Linked DNA regions of Homo sapiens: regions 1, 2, 4 and 5 are each linked to region 3. Evidence: promoter capture Hi-C in 16 types of primary human blood cells and fetal thymus (Javierre and others, 2016). All regions are on one chromosome and are shown on one strand. Each heading gives the region's core, a stretch centred on a gene start or on the middle of the fragment in contact. The rest is flanking DNA. Distances are from core to core; before and after follow the strand shown. Region 1 has its middle 20 kb from the start of CRYAA. Region 2 holds the start of HSF2BP (heat shock transcription factor 2 binding protein). Region 3 holds the start of SIK1 (salt inducible kinase 1). Region 4 has its middle 37 kb from the start of CRYAA. Region 5 has its middle 60 kb from the start of LINC00322.

Region 1 (3,203 bases), core at 264-2,763, 240 kb before region 3:
AGGTACCCAGGACTGTTTTCTGTAAAGCCCTATTAAAATATTCATGAGCTCCATGAATTCTCCCCGTGCTGGGGGCTCTTTTCTTGTGGCCTCGGGTGCAGCTGGTGCTGGCTCTGTGCAGGTCTCTGGTTTTATTGACTGGGTTGGTCCTTGGCCTCATCCTTCCGTGGCTCCATTTTCCTGCCCGCCCATCCCCTGGCCACCGCTCTGAGGGCTGCCGTGGGTCCTGCTGTTATGGGTCTTGTGCCACGTGCACCATAGCTAGCTGAGCAGTTGAAGCCCCATGGATGGTGTTGGGCCCAGGGCTTGGCTCCACAGGACACTCAGGCCAGCCCTGGGGTCTGCTGGGGCTGCTGCCCAGGATTCCTGGCAGTGCCGATGCGGTCAGTGCCTGGGAACCTTTACTGCAAGACAGTGTGCAGATACAGTGCAGGTCTCCTAGGGAGTCCAGACAGGCCTGAGGCGGCAGCTGGAGGCTCCTCAGCAGGGACTGGGCCCTGAGTCACAGGCTCATGTGCTCGGCTCGGAGCAGGAGTCAAGAGGTTTCCGCCTCTGCTTAGCCCCTGACTCACTGAGGCCTCCCTGGACCTCGGTTTCTTCTTCTGTGACATAATGGACTGGGGTGGGTTTGGAGGATCAAGGACACCTCTGAAAATATGATCAGAAGACATGGACTCATTTCTAGGCACACACACATGAACATACAACACAAGCATGCATACACAGTGCACACATGCATGCCTATGGGCATACATACATGAACACACACACGCACATGTACAACACACGCACACAGTGCACACACATGAGCACACACACGAACACATACACACATGTACATACAGTGCACACACGAGCACACATTCATGAGCAATAGACACATGCACACAACAGACATGCACACAGTGCACACATGCATGCACATGAGCACACACAGATACATACATGAATGCACATACATGCATACATGTGCTCACATGCAATGCACACACACATGTGTACACACAGGCACATTCACATACACTCAGGGAGTGTGTGGGCTGGGGCAAGCTTGTGCATAGATCCCAGGATCAAAACCTTGAGATCTTTTCCCAGCTGTGCTCACATCCCATGGGTGGCTCATGAAATTAATTCAGTGGGTCTCCACCAGCATCTTTAAAGAAGGAATAGAATAGAGTAGAGTGGAAGTATACATTGGTTCACAACCTTTACTTCAGTGCTACACACACAGGCACACACATGCGATACACACTGGATCATGGTGGAAAATTTATTTCCTACTGTGGCCCTTGGTCATTGAGTCTGAAAACACAGAGCCAGGACATCCCCTGATGGGGTGGCCGGCTGGGCACCCTCACTCCTCGCCACCCTCAGACCTAAGCAGTGGCCTGTGGGGTGGCTCTCGCCACAACTTGAGGTGGGAAACCCAACACATAGGAAAGTTACTTTCTTTTTGTTTGAGACAGAGCCTTGCTCTGTCACCCAGGCTGGAGAGCAGTGGCGTGATTTCGGCTCACTGCAACCTCCACCTCCCGGGTTCAATCTATTCTCCTGTCTCAGCCCCCCGAGTAGCTGGGACTACAGGGGCCTGCCACCATGCCCAGCTAACTTTTTGTATTTTTAATAGAGATGGGGTTTCGCCATATTGGTCAGGCTGGTCTCGAACTCCTGACCTCAGGTGATCTGCTCGCCTCAGCCTCCCAAAGTGCTGGGATTACAGGTGTGAGGAACGTTACTTTCATTTCCTGATGTTTGAGGTGTGGTCTCTTCTGGTTCCTTTTTTATTTGATTTGATTTTCTAATTCATCTACTTGAGGGCTGAGAACGTCTCTTCTCTTCCTCTTCCTCTTCCCCCGCCCCCACCACCCTTCTTAACTCCTCTTCTCTCTTTTCTGTGTGCAGAGACATTAGGCTGATGCTCTCCCGGCCCCCTTGGTAATTGTACCAGTTGGCAGCCTTGCCTCTGCGTCCCTGTGGGAAGCTTGGCTCGGCCGGGAGCTCTTTGGCGTGGCAGAGCTCCCTCCCGGCCCCCACCGGGTCTGGGAGGATCTTGCATTTTACAGAGTGCCCATGCCAACCTCCCTTGGCAAGCTCGTGGTGTTTCTCTGCATTTGCCAAGAAATGGAGCAAAACCCAACTCAGTTTGCTGGGCTCTTCGGGGATACAGGAAAGAAAAAAGAATGGCTCCACACCCTTTCCCTGAACTTTCTGTACTCATTATTTTCTTCTGTCTGTCTATTTTTTGCTCTAAAATCACAGGGCTTTCGTTATTTGATGTCTTTCGTGTATAAATACACGTTGTCCCCAGACTACTGTTTTTTCAAACGCTTTTGTGATTTAAAACAATTTTATTTTTATTGTAAAATATATGCTACATACAGTAGAGTACATACAATACAGATATACATTTTAAAGAATGGTTAGCCTGCTGAGTGCAGTGGCTCACGCCCATAATCCCAGCACTTTGGGAGGCTGAGGCAGGAGGATCACTTGAACTCAAGAGTTCGAGACCAGCCTGGGCAACATGGCAAAACCCCGTCTCTACAAAAAATACAAAAATTAGCCAGGCATGGTGGTGCATGCCTGTGGTCCTAACTATTTGGGAGGCTGAGGTGGAAGGATTGCTTGAGCCCAGGAGGCAGAGGCTGTGAGCTGTGATCGTCCCACTGTACTCCAGCCTGGGCGACAAAGTGAGACCCTATCTATCTCAAAAAAAAAAAAAAGGGGAACTTCTTCCCAGATTAAGAAATAGAACCTTAACCAGAACCTTAGAAGTGGCCTGTGCACCCTTTGGGATCGCATCTCATTCGTTCATTCATTCATTCGTTCATGCATGCAGCAAGTCTTTATTGAGTCCCTGCTATGTGCTAGGCTTTGTGCTAAGCATTTGGGATATAGCCGCAGACGAAACAGATCAAAACCCCTGGCTGTGTGGCTCTGCATCTTACCCTGCAGGTAAGAGACATTTTGACTTTTTGTGATGTTCATTCCTTTGCTTTGTCTTAGGGTTTCCATGTGGGTGGGAATGCATCCCTAAACAACATCATGCTTCCTTTTGTGGTTTTGGAACTTGAGGTAAACAAGGTGATACTGCGTGGACCCGGATGGGATTGCTTCTCTCCCTTGGTCTTGTCTTGCATGTGAGATTCACCCCACAGCTGTGCGTGGCCATGGGCCATTTGTTTTCATGCGTCTATATAGTG
Region 2 (3,330 bases), core at 482-2,981, 230 kb after region 3:
CACGGAGCAGAGAAGAGAGTGACCATCCATCCCACGCTCCCATGCCCGCTTTGGCGCCACTGAGTGCCCCCACCACGCGCAGCCTCACAGACCGGGTCCCCGCGTGGGTTTGGAGGCGAAGTCGCCTCCCGCCCCAGGTCTCCACCCCGCTCCGGCCCAGCCCACGCCGTTAGGGGAGGAAGTCTCCAGGCTTCCCCCAAGCACGCGACAGCGAGCCGTCTCCGAGCGCACGGGGCGAGGCCCTGAGGGGAGCGAATGGCGACGGTTCAAACACGCTGGCGTCGGCCAGGGCTTCCTCACTAACCCGGCAGGCCTCCTCAGCGGCGCCCGCTTCGCCCATGGCCGCTGCCGCCTCCGCTCCGTTCGCCTGAGCGTCGGCGCGCCCTCTGACCCCTCACGCCAGAAAGCGCGGGAACGAATCCACGCCGGGGGTCGGGAACGGAGAGCCGCCAGGCCCAAACCTCCCAGAATTTGCGCAGTATTCTCGGCCTAGAGAGCGAGGAGTGGCCTTGGCGAGGTCCCTCTTTGGCTCTTCTGGCTTAGCCGGGGTTTTAAACTTGTTATCTGCAAAGCAGAAGGAAAGTCAGCCCCTGATGTAAGTGTCAAGTAAAATAAATCGGATGGGTCCTTTCCTGTTTGGCGAGGAATGCTACACTAAGGGGGACTGCGTTCAAATGGGCAGTCTTTGCTGGAAACCTCGCCTCCGCGCGCCTTCCCTCGCTCGGATTCAGGCGCTTTTACGTTAAGGGTTGAATTTTTGTGTCAACAGGCACCTCGGGAGGTCGCCTAGACAACTGAGCGGAGCAACTGAGATAACCCCCGCTACGTGTGGAGTGACCTAGTCCATTAACTTGCCCCAGCACGCCCGCTGAGTCCGCAAAATATAGGATGGCCTCGGGTTTTAGATGAACCCAAAGCTAAGATTTCTTCCCTCTCTGGAATTAGCAAGCAGCCCGCCCTGCCCAACTCCCCTGGAAGCGCGCGTGCTCGCCAGGCCTCGGGACGCCTGCGCGGGCGCCCTTGCACTGGCACCAGGGCTCCGGGGTAGGGGCGCACCGATCTGCCCAAGCCTCTGCAGGCACTGGAGGAAGGCGAGCCCTCCACCCGCTCAACAGGCCCCAGTGCCGGCCTTTCCTTCCAGTCTCAACTCCACCCGGGGGCCCGGGGGCTCCACAGTTAAAAACTCCACGCCACGGAGATCGCAGGTAAGCTGCTGGCTCAACGAGGTGTGCTAAATGGGATTAAAGATCCTGGACCGTGGCCAGGCGCGGCGGCTCAAGCCTGTAATCCCAGCGATCAGGGAGGCCGCCGCGGGAGGATTGCTTGAGCCCAGGAGTTTGAGACCAGCTTGGGCAACATAGCGAGACACCGTCTCTACAAAAAAATAACAAATAGTGGGGCGTGATGGCGCGCGCCTGTAGTCTCAGCTACTTGGGCGGTCGAGATGGGAGGATCGATCGAGTCTGGGAGGTCGAGGCTGCAGTGAGCCAGGATCACCGCCAAGATCGCGCCACTGCATTCCAGCCTGGGCGACAGAGGGAGACCCTGTCTCAAAAACAAACAAAAAATCCTAGACCGTTTACAAACAGCCTTCCGTCTCTTCCTGGTCAAGTCCTAACCCTGGCTAACCTCGCCGTCTACAGCCTGAATTTTGGCAACCGAAAGGCAGCGCCGGCGCCACGTGCACACGGGCTGGGCCGCTCCGCCAGCTGCCAGGGCCACTGCCGCGCTCACTCCCAGAGCGCGCTGCGAGCCGCGGCGCCTTTGTGACGCCATCAGCCCGCGCGCCGCCGCCGCCGCCTTCTGTGCAGTCGCGGCCCGGGCGGACGGTGGCTGGCTGCTCCGCAGCGCTCGGCTGGCTGCAGCGGCACCGCGGGTTGCGCGGCCGGGGATGCTCCAGCGGGCGCGATGGCCCCCGCCATGCAGCCGGCCGAGATCCAATTTGCCCAGCGGCTGGCGTCCAGCGAGAAGGGCATCCGGGACCGAGCGGTGAAGAAGCTGCGCCAGTACATCAGCGTGAAGACGCAGAGGGAGACAGGTGGGCGCACGGCCGCGGTCAGCCGCGCCACATGGCGGGCCGGGGGCCGGGGCTGGGGCTAGGGCCAGGGCCCCGGCACGGAATGCGGCTTCCACGTGTTGTCGTGACACCCAGCGTGTGCTTCGGTTTCCGCGCTGCCGGAACCGCTTCTTGCTGTGTCTAGTGCCTTTTTACACTTAAGGAAACGGGTTGAGGGGGTTCCGTTACTTATGAAAGTCACAGTAAGCGGGGAAGCTGAGAAAAGACCCACATGGGTCCGATTCCCCAGCCGGCATCTCGAATCACTGGGCTGCCCTGATTTGCCCTGGTGTCCGGTCGGTGATTGCCGCCTTCCTTTGACCAGCACCTTTACGTGACGGGGCTGCAGGAGAGAAGACAGACAAAATCACTACCCTCGAGGATCTATTAGTAATAAAGCAAGGAGGCAAACAGGCAAATAAAGTAGACCTTGTGTAAGTGTAGTAAAGGAAATGAAAACCAGGTAGCAGGCCGGGCGCGGTGTCTCACGCATGTAATCCCAGCACTCTGGGAAGCCGAGGCGGGCGGATCACCTGAGGTCGGGAGTTCGAGACCAGCCGGACCAACATGGTGAAACCCCGGCTCTACTAAAAATACAGAATTAGCCGGGCATGGTGGCGCATGCCTGTAATCTCAGTACTCGGGAGGCTGAGGCAGGAGAATCGCTTGAACCTGGGAGGCGGAGGTTGCGGTGAGCCGAGATCGCAGCATTGCACTCCGGCCTGGGCAACAAGAGCGAAACTCCGTCTCAAAAAGAAAAGAAAAGAAAAAAGGAAAAAGAAAACCAGATAATAGCAAAAAGGGAAGGAGGTTGCTCTTCTTGATAGGCTGTTCTGGGAAGGCCTCTCTGGGCTGATAATCAGCTCAGATCTGAAGAGAAATGAGCGGAAACCGCCTATGCAGAGGCAGGAAAGAGCTTCACGTGCCCTAGGAGTGGTTTGAAAGACCAATAAGTTGGGGTTGGGGGGGCGAGTGTTATGAGATGAAGTTGGAGATGTAGGCAGTGGCCAGATCACACAGGGCTTTGTAGTTTAGATTTTAACGGCACTGCTGTTGGATGATTTCATTTACCTGATCCAAAAATACTTTCTATAAACTCTTGAGTGAGCCCATACAATATGAACTACAATGTGTAATAGAGGTTTTAAGATAAAGTTTTATTTAGTTACTGATGGTACTAATACATTTAGAATCTGCTTAAAAGAACAGATATTATCTCCCCCATCACTGACATTCTCAGTTTGTTTTATTTTTAAGAGAAATCACCAGACTAC
Region 3 (3,164 bases), core at 1-2,500:
GAACTAAAAACGGTTACTATTTACCCACCACGACAATCAAGCCTGGAGCAGTGAATCTGCATGGGGTCCACCCGCCAAAGGTCGGGTCGCCCCGGGTCCAGTGGGGAGGCCCCGCCGGCTGGGTCCCACCGCCCCCACGCACCTGCGTTTTGGTGACTCGATGCCGCGCCAGCTTCACCACCGCGAAGTTGCCTTTGCCCAGGGTCCGCTCGATGTCGTAAAAACCCACCCGGAGGGGCTTCTGCTGGCCCTGACCCTGGCCCGCGGGGTCCGCGCTGAACTCCGACATGATAACCATGGCTCCGCGCGCACCTGCGGGGCCGCACAGAGCTCAGAGCCCACCAGCGCCCCCGCCGCCCGCGGTCGGCTCCATCCGTGCCCGCGGAGCCCCCAGTCCCCACGGGACGCAGGGACCTGCTCCCACGCCTGTCGCCCCCACTCTATCCACGGGCCCCTCCAGCCCCGTGGGAGGTGTGGACCCGCCCCCGCCGCCCGCTCCACCCGGACCCCCGACCCTCTTGAGCCCCGCGGGGCGCACGGACCCGCTCTCATAGAGGCCCCTGCCGCCCGAGTCCGGTTCCGTCCCGATCCCGGGACCCCCTGAGCCGGGATTCCACACTCGCCTCCCGCCGCCCGCTGTCGGTTCCGTCCCCACCCTCGACCCCTTTAGCACCTCTGGGCGCGGACCCGCTCCCACACCTGGCCCTGCCACCCGAGGTCGGCTCGATCCGGATCCCAGGACCGTCCCCTGCCCCGCTCCCACACCCTGCCCCCGCCGCCCGCGATCCGTCCGGTCCCCACCCCCGACATCCCAGGCACCTCGGGGATCGCGGACCCGCCCCCCACACCCGGTATCTCCGCCCGCGGTCGGCTCCAACCTGACCCCCGGCTCCCCAGCCCCTGAGCCCCGCGGACTCACTCCTACCCCGGCCCCCCAACAAAGGGGAGCCCGAGGGCGGCCAGGCCGCCAACCCCGCCCGCGAACCCCGCGCGCGCAAGGCCAGGGACCCTGCGCGGTGGCTGCAACCCCGAGCCCCGGCCCGGCGCCCGCGCGGAGCCCCCACGGCGGCCACCTCCGCCCGCCCGGAGCCCGCCGCTGCCGCCGCTGCCGCCGCTGCCGCCGCCTCACCTCCGCCGCCACCGGAGCGCCCAGGCCAGGAAGCCGCCCGCTCGGCCGCTGGCGCTGCTCGGGTGCCTACTGCTCCGGCTGCCGCCGCCGCTGCTGCTGCCTCCGGGGCCGCGCCGCATGTCAGCCCGGAGCCGCCGCGCTCCGCCGCACGCGGCGCCCGGCCCCGCCCCGGCCCGCCCCGGCCCGCCCCCCGTAGTCCCCGCCCCCTGCCCCGCCCCCGCCGCCCGGGCGGGGGCCGCCCATTGACGTCGCTTTGACGCCAGAGCGACGCGCGGCCGAGCGCCGGGCGGAGGGAGAGCGGGAGATCGGGCGGTTGCCAAGAGACTGGCGGCTCTGACGCGCGCGGGATGAGGCCGTTGCCCTGGCGACCGCGGGCCGGTGACGTCAGGGGCGCCCGCCGCCCGAGGCCCGCCCGCCTGCGCTCCGCCGGGCGCCCCCTCCCGGGCGCTGGGGGCACTGCGGGCGGCCCCACCGCCGAGGGCGCGCCCGCCCCTCCACGCTCGGGCACTCGGGCCGGGTCCCGCGGGCGCCTTGTGCTCGCTCCCTCCAGGAGGGGACGGCTCTCGGGCAGGGGTCGCCGGCCCCTCCACGCGGCCTGCGTTCGTCCAGACTCAGAGCCTCGGGACGTGCGGGGGCCCGGGGGCCTCGCGGGCTCGCGCGTGGGGCTGGCGGCGCGGATGCCCTGGGGCGCTGCAGACCCCGAGAGGCCGCTTGCCCGCGGGGACGTCAGCCGCTTTTGCTGTTAAAATCTGAAATGTTCAGCAAGTTAGAAACTTGAAACCTAAGGAAGCGTGACCGGCCGCTCTGGAAGCCCCCGCCGCGCGGCCGGTCCCGGCCCCGGCCCTCAGCGGCGCTGGCGTCTGCGCGTCCCGGGGCTGCCCCCGCAGCATGTGGGGCTGGGACCCTCTTCCCGCGCGGGCCCCGGGCGGACGCTGCGGGCGGTGACGGAGCCAGGCCGGCCGCCTGGGTAGGGGACGGGGGCGCGGGACCACTTGCTTGCCCGTGGCCGATGCCTCATCCGAACGGAAAACGTTTTCTTCAGGGGAGACAGAGGCTGTGGGCGAAGGTATTTTTTAAGCCTGAGGACCCATTTGGGAGTTAGATTCTGGATCGAGCCTAGGGTCAGTTTTCCTTGTGTTAAATAACACTACTTCACAGAAGGGGGAACGAGAATTCAGGGGAGTTGGCACAAAACTTGGAACCCTTCTCGGGAGGCTTTCCTGCCTGGACGGACGCCTGGGAGGAGGGCCCGGAGAAACGAGGATGAGCTTCTCCTCATTCGCCCGAGGGTCTGACCACAGATTTCCCAATCGCCACACACACACACACACACACACACACACACACACACACACGGGTTGTTTGGGAGTCAGTTGGTTTTCAAAGGCTTTCAAGGAAATGAAGAGTCCCAAAGTTTTCCTTAATCGTTCAGAGTGTTTTTCTTTGTCCCAGGTTTATATACCAAGAATACGGGGGAATATTTTTAGTTCCTTTCAGCTGAACAGTGTACAACTGCCTTTTTTCCTTTTGGAGGTCCCAACACCCTGTTAATCCGCTCCTAGGAGAACTAAACAAAAACAAGGCTGGACGTCGTGTCTCCCGCCTGTAATCCCAGTGCTTTGGGAGGCTGAGGCAGGAGGATCAGTTGAGCTCAGGAGTTTGAGACCGGCTTGGTTAACATAGCAAGACCTCACCTCTATAAAATACTTTTAAAATAGCCAGGTGTGGTGGCACACGCCTGTGGGGCCGGCTACTTGGGAGCCTGAGGTGGGAGGATGGCGTGAGCCTGGGAGGTTGAGGCTGCAGTGAGCTGTCATTGCACCACTGCACTCCAGCCTGAGCAAGAGAACAAGGCCCTGTCTCAAAAAAGAACAAAGATAAAAGGCGGGGTGGGGGAGAAACCAGGCCCCTGATCACACTCACCATTCAGTCCCTCAGCCTGTGACTTGAAATACTGCCCCCCGCATCCAGGAAGCAGGCTTCCCCACCCCTCCCACCCTAGCCAGAGTCTTCCAAAAGGTCTTAGGTATTTGCA
Region 4 (3,345 bases), core at 408-2,907, 220 kb before region 3:
TGGAAGACGTTTGATCAGGACCTGCCAGTGGGTGACGAGGGCGGCATAAGGAGGACTGTGGTGGGCACCCCCTCACCCACCCCTTCTCAGTGTCTCCCCCCACAGAGCAAGTGCAGGGCTGCCCAGGGCTGGGGGCACTATAAGAGTCTGAAGTGGCTTTTATAAATGAGTGATTCGATTGAAGAGCAATTTTAAAATTTACCTATGTATTTTGGTAGAAGAATCTCTATTTAGAGAGGGAGATGACAGTGGCCTTCCCAGGCTTTGAGAGGTGAGTTGAATTTTCTGTCTCGATAAAGAGAAAGCTTTTCTCTTGGGTTCATATATATAAATAGCCAGTTGTCTAAAACACGTATAAAAACCCAATCTTACAAAATGTAAAAAATAAAAAAAAGCCAATTGTCTTTGGGTTTTCTAAATTTTCCTGCAAGTTCTGTGTGTGGGGCGGTGGCCCCTAATTTTAGTTAAATTTGCTTTGCTTTTCTCAGACGGCCTCCCTTATACTGGAACTTGCAGACTTTTCTGTCGGCCTCTGATCTGACCTCCAAAGGAAGTGGCTGAAGGGGATGGTGGAGGAGGCCAGGACTTCAGGGACCCACAGCCATCACCTCCCTCCCCTGCCCCCTACACACCAACTCTCTGGAAAACAGCAGGTAGAATTGTTCCCACTGAGTGGTCAATGCCAGAGGCCACATCAACATGCTATCTATGAGAACTTTCCAGATCTTAGTCAAAAGAAATCAAAGTTCTAATGCTGGAGTTCCAGGCTCCAGCTGGGCTGCTGGTGGGGAGGAACCCTGTTGTTGGGGACAGAACCCATTCGTGCCCTCCTGGGCTACCCCCGGAATCTAGCCGTGCATAGGCTTCTGCATCCACCATCCGGTTCTGGGCAATGTAAATTTCACATGTGCGTGATCCAGGTGGGCTCCCCGTGTGTTAGCTTGTTTTCACACTGCTATAAAGAACTGCCTGAGGCCAGGCGCAGTGGCTCACACCTGTAATCCCAGCACTTTGGGAGGCCAAGGAGGGCGGATCACGAGGTCAAGAGATCGAGACCATCCTGGCCAACATGGTGAAACCCCATCTCTACTGAAAATATAAACATTAGCTGGGCGTGGTGGCGGGTGCCTGTAATCCCAGCTACTCAAGAGGCTGAGGCAGGAGAATGGCGTGAACCTGGGAGGCAGAGGTTGCAGTGAGCCAAGATCCTGGCACTGCACTCCAGCCTGGGCGACAGAGCGAGACTCTGTCTCAAACAAACAAAGAAGCAAACAAACAAACAGAACTGCCCGAGGCTGGGTAATGTAAAAAGAGAAGAGGTTTAATTGACTCCCAGTTCCACATGGCTGGGGAGGCCTCAGGAAACTTTCAATCATGGCGGAAGGCAAAGCGGGAGCAAGTACCGTCTTACATGGCAGCAGAAGAGAGAGAGAGCGAGGGGGGAACTGCCAATCACTTTTAAACCATCAGATCTTGTGAGAACTCCCTCACTGTCCTGAGAACAGCATGGGGAAACCATTCCCATGATCCAATCCCCTTCCACCAGGTCCCTCCTCCGATACACAGGGATTACAGCTTGAGATCAGATTTGGGTGGGGACACAAAGCCAAACCATATCATCCAGGCTGCAGGAAGGGCCACTGGGTGGACAACAGAGGCAATGACCACACGTGCCCCTCTGTGGTGTTTGAGGGGACTCCCCCAAGGCAGACTGGGTCAGCTCAAGTGGATTGTGGGTGGACACTCAGGTGACCAGTTTAGGCGACCGAGCTAAGGGCCTTTACACCTCCTCCTTCTTGAGCCTTGGACTTTGGTGCCCACCTTCCATGGGGCAGACAAAGGGTGGTGCCCTGCTGGGACCGGAGCCCTGCCTGGAAGCCAGAGTAAATGGCACATCCATTTTGGACTGGTGGCTGCTCTTGCAGGTGCTGGAGCTCTTTGTCCTACTGGCGCAGCTCTCCAGCGCCTCCGTCACTCTCGCCAACAGGTTTGTCACGGTGCAGGTGTTTTCTTTTCCTCTCCTACAAGCTGACCTAGTGGAGCTCGCTGGGGGAGGTCAAGTGTCTTTCGTCCCCGTTGCATCACAGGACAGTCTTTATTATTAGCCAAGGGAGGGGGTAGGTGGGGGAGAAGCCAATCAAGCCTTTGGAGGGTCTGCAGCTGAATCGGCACTCAGACCCCCGTGGTGTGAAATGGGGATGGGGGGACGAGTGGGCGCAGCCACTGGGAGCATTGATGGAGGTGAAGAGAGGGGAGCGAAGCAGCTGAGCAGTTCCAAAGGCGTGTTGTGTTTCTCTTTTCTGCCTCTTAGGCCAGTTAGTGGGACACGGCCAGTCCCTTCTTCCCTCACCTTTCAGCGGGAAGGTGCCACCTGCCCAGTGAGCCGTCGGGATGACCCAGGGCAGGCACTGCAGCCTCTGGCCAAGCAGGTGCCCAGGCAGCACTGGTAATCATATGTTTATTGTTCTTTTCTGCAGTAGCAGTCACCCCCTTCTCTCTCTCTCTCTCTCTCTTTTTTTTTCTGGGGGACAGAGTCTCGCTCTGTTGCCAGGCTGGAGTGCAGTGGCGCAATCTCGGCTCACTGAAACCTCCACCTCCCAGGTTTGAGCAATTCTCCTGCCTCAGCCTCCTGAGTAGCTGGGACTACAGGTGTGCACCACCACACTCAGCTAATTTTTTGTATTTTTAGTAGAGACAGAGTTTCACCATGATGGCCAGGATGGTCTTGATCTCCTGACCTCGTGATCCGCCTGCCTCAGCCTCCCAAAGTGCTGGGATTACAGGCGTGAGCCACTGCTCCCAGCCACCCCCTTCTCTTAAACGGTTCCTCTCTGACCCATGCTCCCACGCGGATCCATGAACAAGAAGGGCTGGGTCTGTGGCTGGGATTTGGGGTCCTTCCAGAAGCTGCTTTTCCACTCTTTTGGCCAAATGTTCCCCTTCCCCTGTTGCCAAAACTGATTTTATGGTCTAATTAGATGAGGGAGACACCTCTCTGGAGCCTAGGATTGAAGCTTCAAAGCTATTTTCAAGGCTGACGTTGGAAGATCCTGGAAACACTGGCCCTGTTCTGGGCATCATTCATTTCCCGGAGACATGACCAGCAAATCTGTTCAGATGAGACAAGTCCATGTGGCTTGAGGGCAGTGGGAGTGGATGCTGGTGAGACTGTCCTGATGGTGTCTGTCCAGGGAAAAGCAGGAGGACTCCTGTTGCTGAGTGCACCCAGCTCGAAGCTCGGGGTTCCCCCTGCCTGGGAGGAACAGGGGGTCCCAGCTCAGCAGTGGAAAGAAGCTCGGGGTTCCCTCTGCCTGGGAGGACCAGGGGGTCCCAGCTCAGCGGTGG
Region 5 (3,289 bases), core at 492-2,991, 150 kb before region 3:
GACCAGCACTGGCAGAGGCAGCAGCCGCAGACCCTCCACAGAGCTGGGCACTGATTCAAACAGAGAAGCCAAGAAACTCAGACAGCGAAGGAGGAGGAGACACAGAAACCATGGAGGGGAATTTGTTTTAAAGGAGAGTAGGGGAAACTTAGGTGTTATTTCTCATCAAAGGAGTCTAATAAATTAAATAGGAAATAAAGTCATAATAAAGATTTCCAAAGTAAAAGCTGCCTTAGGGTGGCATTGGGGATGGCCTTGGACAAGGGGGAGTAGTGGTGCCGTGTCAGTGAATATGCTTAACAGAGACCCGAGACCATCGCAGAGTAACAGAGATGCCCACTGCAGATAATCAGCTGACGCCCGCCGCGGTGCCTGGGAAACTCAGACTCTGTTCACCCTGCGGCTTCTGCCATCCTCACAGCACAGTTTCCACGGCAACCCCATGAATGCGTGCAGGGCCGGGCATCTGGAAATAGGTGTCCAAAGTCACGTGCAACCAGCAGCAGGCTCAACAACAAGGAAGGCAGAGCGTCACAATGGCCACAGCAATAACCACAATAACAAGAGTGGCAGAGCTGAGGGCAGTCCCCAGTGTGCCAGGCGCCGAGCTGAGCTGGACATCGTCTCACTCACGGCAGGAGCCTGTCCTGCGGAGGAGGATGTGGAGGGCGGCCAGTTGTGTAGCTTACAAACTCCAGCCGGGACTCCAGCCTGAGATGAGCCGCTGCAGAGTCCACACTCCCAATCCCCAGGCCAGAAGTTCTTAACCTCCACCAGGACCACCTAGGAGCTGTTTGAAATACAGGCTCCCGGGCCCCATCCCCACAGCTTTGATCTATAGGTCAGAAGTGGAGCCACGAATCTGCATTTTGACAAACCCTCCAGATGATATGAGAATGGTGGGCCTCGGAGCTCACTGAGAAAAGTCAGACACCACCCCAGACAAGTCTGGTTTCACAGGGAGGGCCGGGCCACCCTGCACTCACCGGTTGGATCAGAAAGTCAACAGCAGGACTCCAGGTTCGTTGGAATTTGGCCATCAGCGATGCTTCCAAATTTGGAGCCTGGCACAAGCGCAGAGACACATCTGTCTCCGCATCTCACTCATCTCCTGCCATTCCAATTCTCCCCACGTCCACCAAGGTGGCCGCCGCCATTGTGGCCACTTCCCAGTTTCTGGCTGGATCTGCCCAGGTCGGGCCCCCAGCTGGCTGCAAATGCTGATGGAGAAATCGAGGGCCTTGCACAGGGACACGCCTCGAGTGGTGAGGAAAGGCCCAATGTGGGATGTGTTTTGAAGGCACAGTCAACAGAGCTAGCTGATGGGTTGGATGCGGGTGGGAGGGGACCCCCAACTCCGTGGAGATCCCGGGCTTGTGGCCTGAGTGGCCGGGTGGGCTCCAGTCCTCCTGACTGAAGTTGAGCCAACCAAGGGGGAAGAGGTGCAGGGGGTGGACCCATGAATTAAGAGCCGGCCACTAAGTCGAGGTGCCCATTGACACCCACATGGGGATTCCCTGCAGACTTGGGATACATTTTATTACAAGTCCAATATTATATGAACATTCATTGCTTTTACAGTAAGAAAAAAAGCCAAACCTTCTAGCCATGATTTTTTATAAAGAAACAAATTCTTGGCCGGGTGCCGTGGTTCATGCCTGGAATCCCAGCACTTAGGGAGGCCAACACGGGCAGGTCACCTGAGGTTAGGAGTTCGAGACCAGCCTGGCCAACATGATGAAACCCTGTCTTTATTAAAAATACAAAAAGTAGCTGGGCGTGGTGATGCACACCTGTAGTCCCAGCTACTCAGGAGCCTGAGGCAGGAGAATCACTTGAACCTGGGAGGTGGAGGTTGCAGTGAGCCTGGAGGGAGGCAGGGCCAGGAGAGAGACCAGGGGGTGCTCACTGAGGCTGTAGCCAGGGACACCACTTCTCCCAGGGTGGAAGGTGGGGTGTGGGGTTTGCCCTGGCCTGGGAGTGATCAAGCCTGGGAGAACCTCAAACGTCCCCACTGGCCATCCTCGTGTGTGGGCGTGATCTGTCATATTATCCCAGAGGTCCCAGCAAGCCTCCTGGCCCTGCTGCTCCCTCTTGGTCCCAGACCCCGACAGTGGGACTCCCAGGTGTGACTGCTGTTGAGTTTGCCTTCATCAGCACTGGGGTTGATCCCCCCGGAAATGGGGGAGTCCCACGTGCACAGAGAATCCCAGCAAGGACCTGGCAGGAAGGGATGGACCCTGCGGGGAGCCAGGGAGGGCTGGGGGGTGCCAAGTGGGCAATGATGACTCGGGACTGGGTAGGGATGGAGGCCATGGGGGAACTGAGCTGGGTTCTGAGCAGGTGAGGCCAGGAGCCAAGACCCAGGAGTCTTCATGAGTCCCGCCCCCTTTTCTATAAGGTGCAGGGTGTGGGGGACGTTGCTGTGAGACACAAGCAGCCATACCCCAGGAACAGGGGCCCGGGAGCTGGCCCTGCTCCCTGGATGTTCACTGTGGACTCTGTCAGGGTCGATGATGGAGCTGAGAGCTGGGGACAGAAACCCCTGTCCCCAGAAGCGAGATCACCGCATGTCTCAGTCCGTTCCCGCTGCTGTAATGATGTACCATAGACTGGTGGCTTCTAAGCATGGACATTTATTTTTCACAGCCTTGCAGGCTGCAAGGCTGAGCTCAGGGCACCAGCAGGGTCGGATTCCCGTGAGCGCCTGCGGCTGGGTTACAGACAACATCCTTCGTCTGTGTCCCTGCGTGTGGAAGGACTGAGGGAGCTCTGTGTGGCCTTTATCAGGGCGTGAATCCCACGAACACGGCTCCACCCTGAGGATCTCCCCACCTCCTCAAGGCCCCATGGCCTCCCAATGCCATCATGATGCGGTGAGGATTTCAACAGATGAGTTTCTGGGGGCACCAACATTCAGATCATAGCGGCCGGCAGGTGCCACAGCCCCCACCCCGGCCGCTGGCAACCCAGGCTTCCCTGATCTCCTGGGTACCAGTAGCCCCTAAGTAGCCAGGCTGGAGGGGGCAGCCAGGAAGGTGGTGGTGGCCCCAGGAGGCAGGCTGTAGGGACAGAGACCAATGCCACCCATGACAAATGCCACCAGGGCCTGGGGGCTCACGCTCACCCTGACAGCCTCGAAAAGCACCCTTCACCAACGGTGCTCCGAGGGTTCACAGTAGCTCAGGGTATTGGAGAACTTCCTGAGGGCCGGCTCTGGAGGAGCTGTCATTCTCCCATGTGGGCCTGGAGTGCCTGTGTGGCAGGAACAGACCCTGGAGATGCCACA

The links. Contacts are between HindIII fragments. The CHiCAGO score rates a contact against its expected background, and 5 or more counts as called.
Region 1: a fragment that was not itself captured here is called in contact with the fragment with the promoter of SIK1 in region 3 in 11 of 17 cell types (endothelial precursors, M0 macrophages, naive B cells and 8 more); the score reaches 18.4 in endothelial precursors.
Region 2: the fragment with the promoter of HSF2BP here is called in contact with the fragment with the promoter of SIK1 in region 3 in 3 of 17 cell types (endothelial precursors, M0 macrophages and M1 macrophages); the score reaches 6.4 in endothelial precursors.
Region 4: a contact is called between a fragment that was not itself captured here and the fragment with the promoter of SIK1 in region 3, in 8 of 17 cell types (endothelial precursors, naive B cells, M0 macrophages and 5 more). The highest score is 12.2, in endothelial precursors.
Region 5: a contact is called between a fragment that was not itself captured here and the fragment with the promoter of SIK1 in region 3, in 6 of 17 cell types (endothelial precursors, M0 macrophages, naive B cells and 3 more). The highest score is 6.7, in endothelial precursors.

What each region holds. Positions count from the first base shown.
Region 1 is chr21:43,186,982-43,190,184 of GRCh38, forward strand. No RefSeq gene overlaps it. Among named protein-coding and RNA genes, the nearest start is that of CRYAA, 20 kb to the left of the region's middle. The HindIII fragment of the contact is 931 bases long and covers 1,049-1,979 here.
Region 2 is chr21:43,657,757-43,661,086 of GRCh38, forward strand. It overlaps HSF2BP (heat shock transcription factor 2 binding protein), which reads right to left and starts at 1,732. Exons shown (of 9, transcript NM_007031.2): 1 at 1,630-1,732; 2 at 305-564. The coding sequence starts at 340. It overlaps RRP1B (ribosomal RNA processing 1B), which reads left to right and starts at 1,804. Exons shown (of 16, transcript NM_015056.3): 1 at 1,804-2,038. The coding sequence starts at 1,909. RefSeq lists a silencer at 1,837-2,026 and an enhancer at 2,747-2,796. The HindIII fragment of the contact is 5,137 bases long and covers 1-3,330 here.
Region 3 is chr21:43,425,881-43,429,044 of GRCh38, forward strand. SIK1 (salt inducible kinase 1) reads right to left here and starts at 1,251. Exons shown (of 14, transcript NM_173354.5): 1 at 1,130-1,251; 2 at 143-312. The coding sequence starts at 298. The HindIII fragment of the contact is 3,848 bases long and covers 1-3,164 here.
Region 4 is chr21:43,204,769-43,208,113 of GRCh38, forward strand. No RefSeq gene overlaps it. Among named protein-coding and RNA genes, the nearest start is that of CRYAA, 37 kb to the left of the region's middle. The HindIII fragment of the contact is 2,709 bases long and covers 304-3,012 here.
Region 5 is chr21:43,270,502-43,273,790 of GRCh38, forward strand. No RefSeq gene overlaps it. Among named protein-coding and RNA genes, the nearest start is that of LINC00322, 60 kb to the right of the region's middle. The HindIII fragment of the contact is 9,130 bases long and covers 1-3,289 here.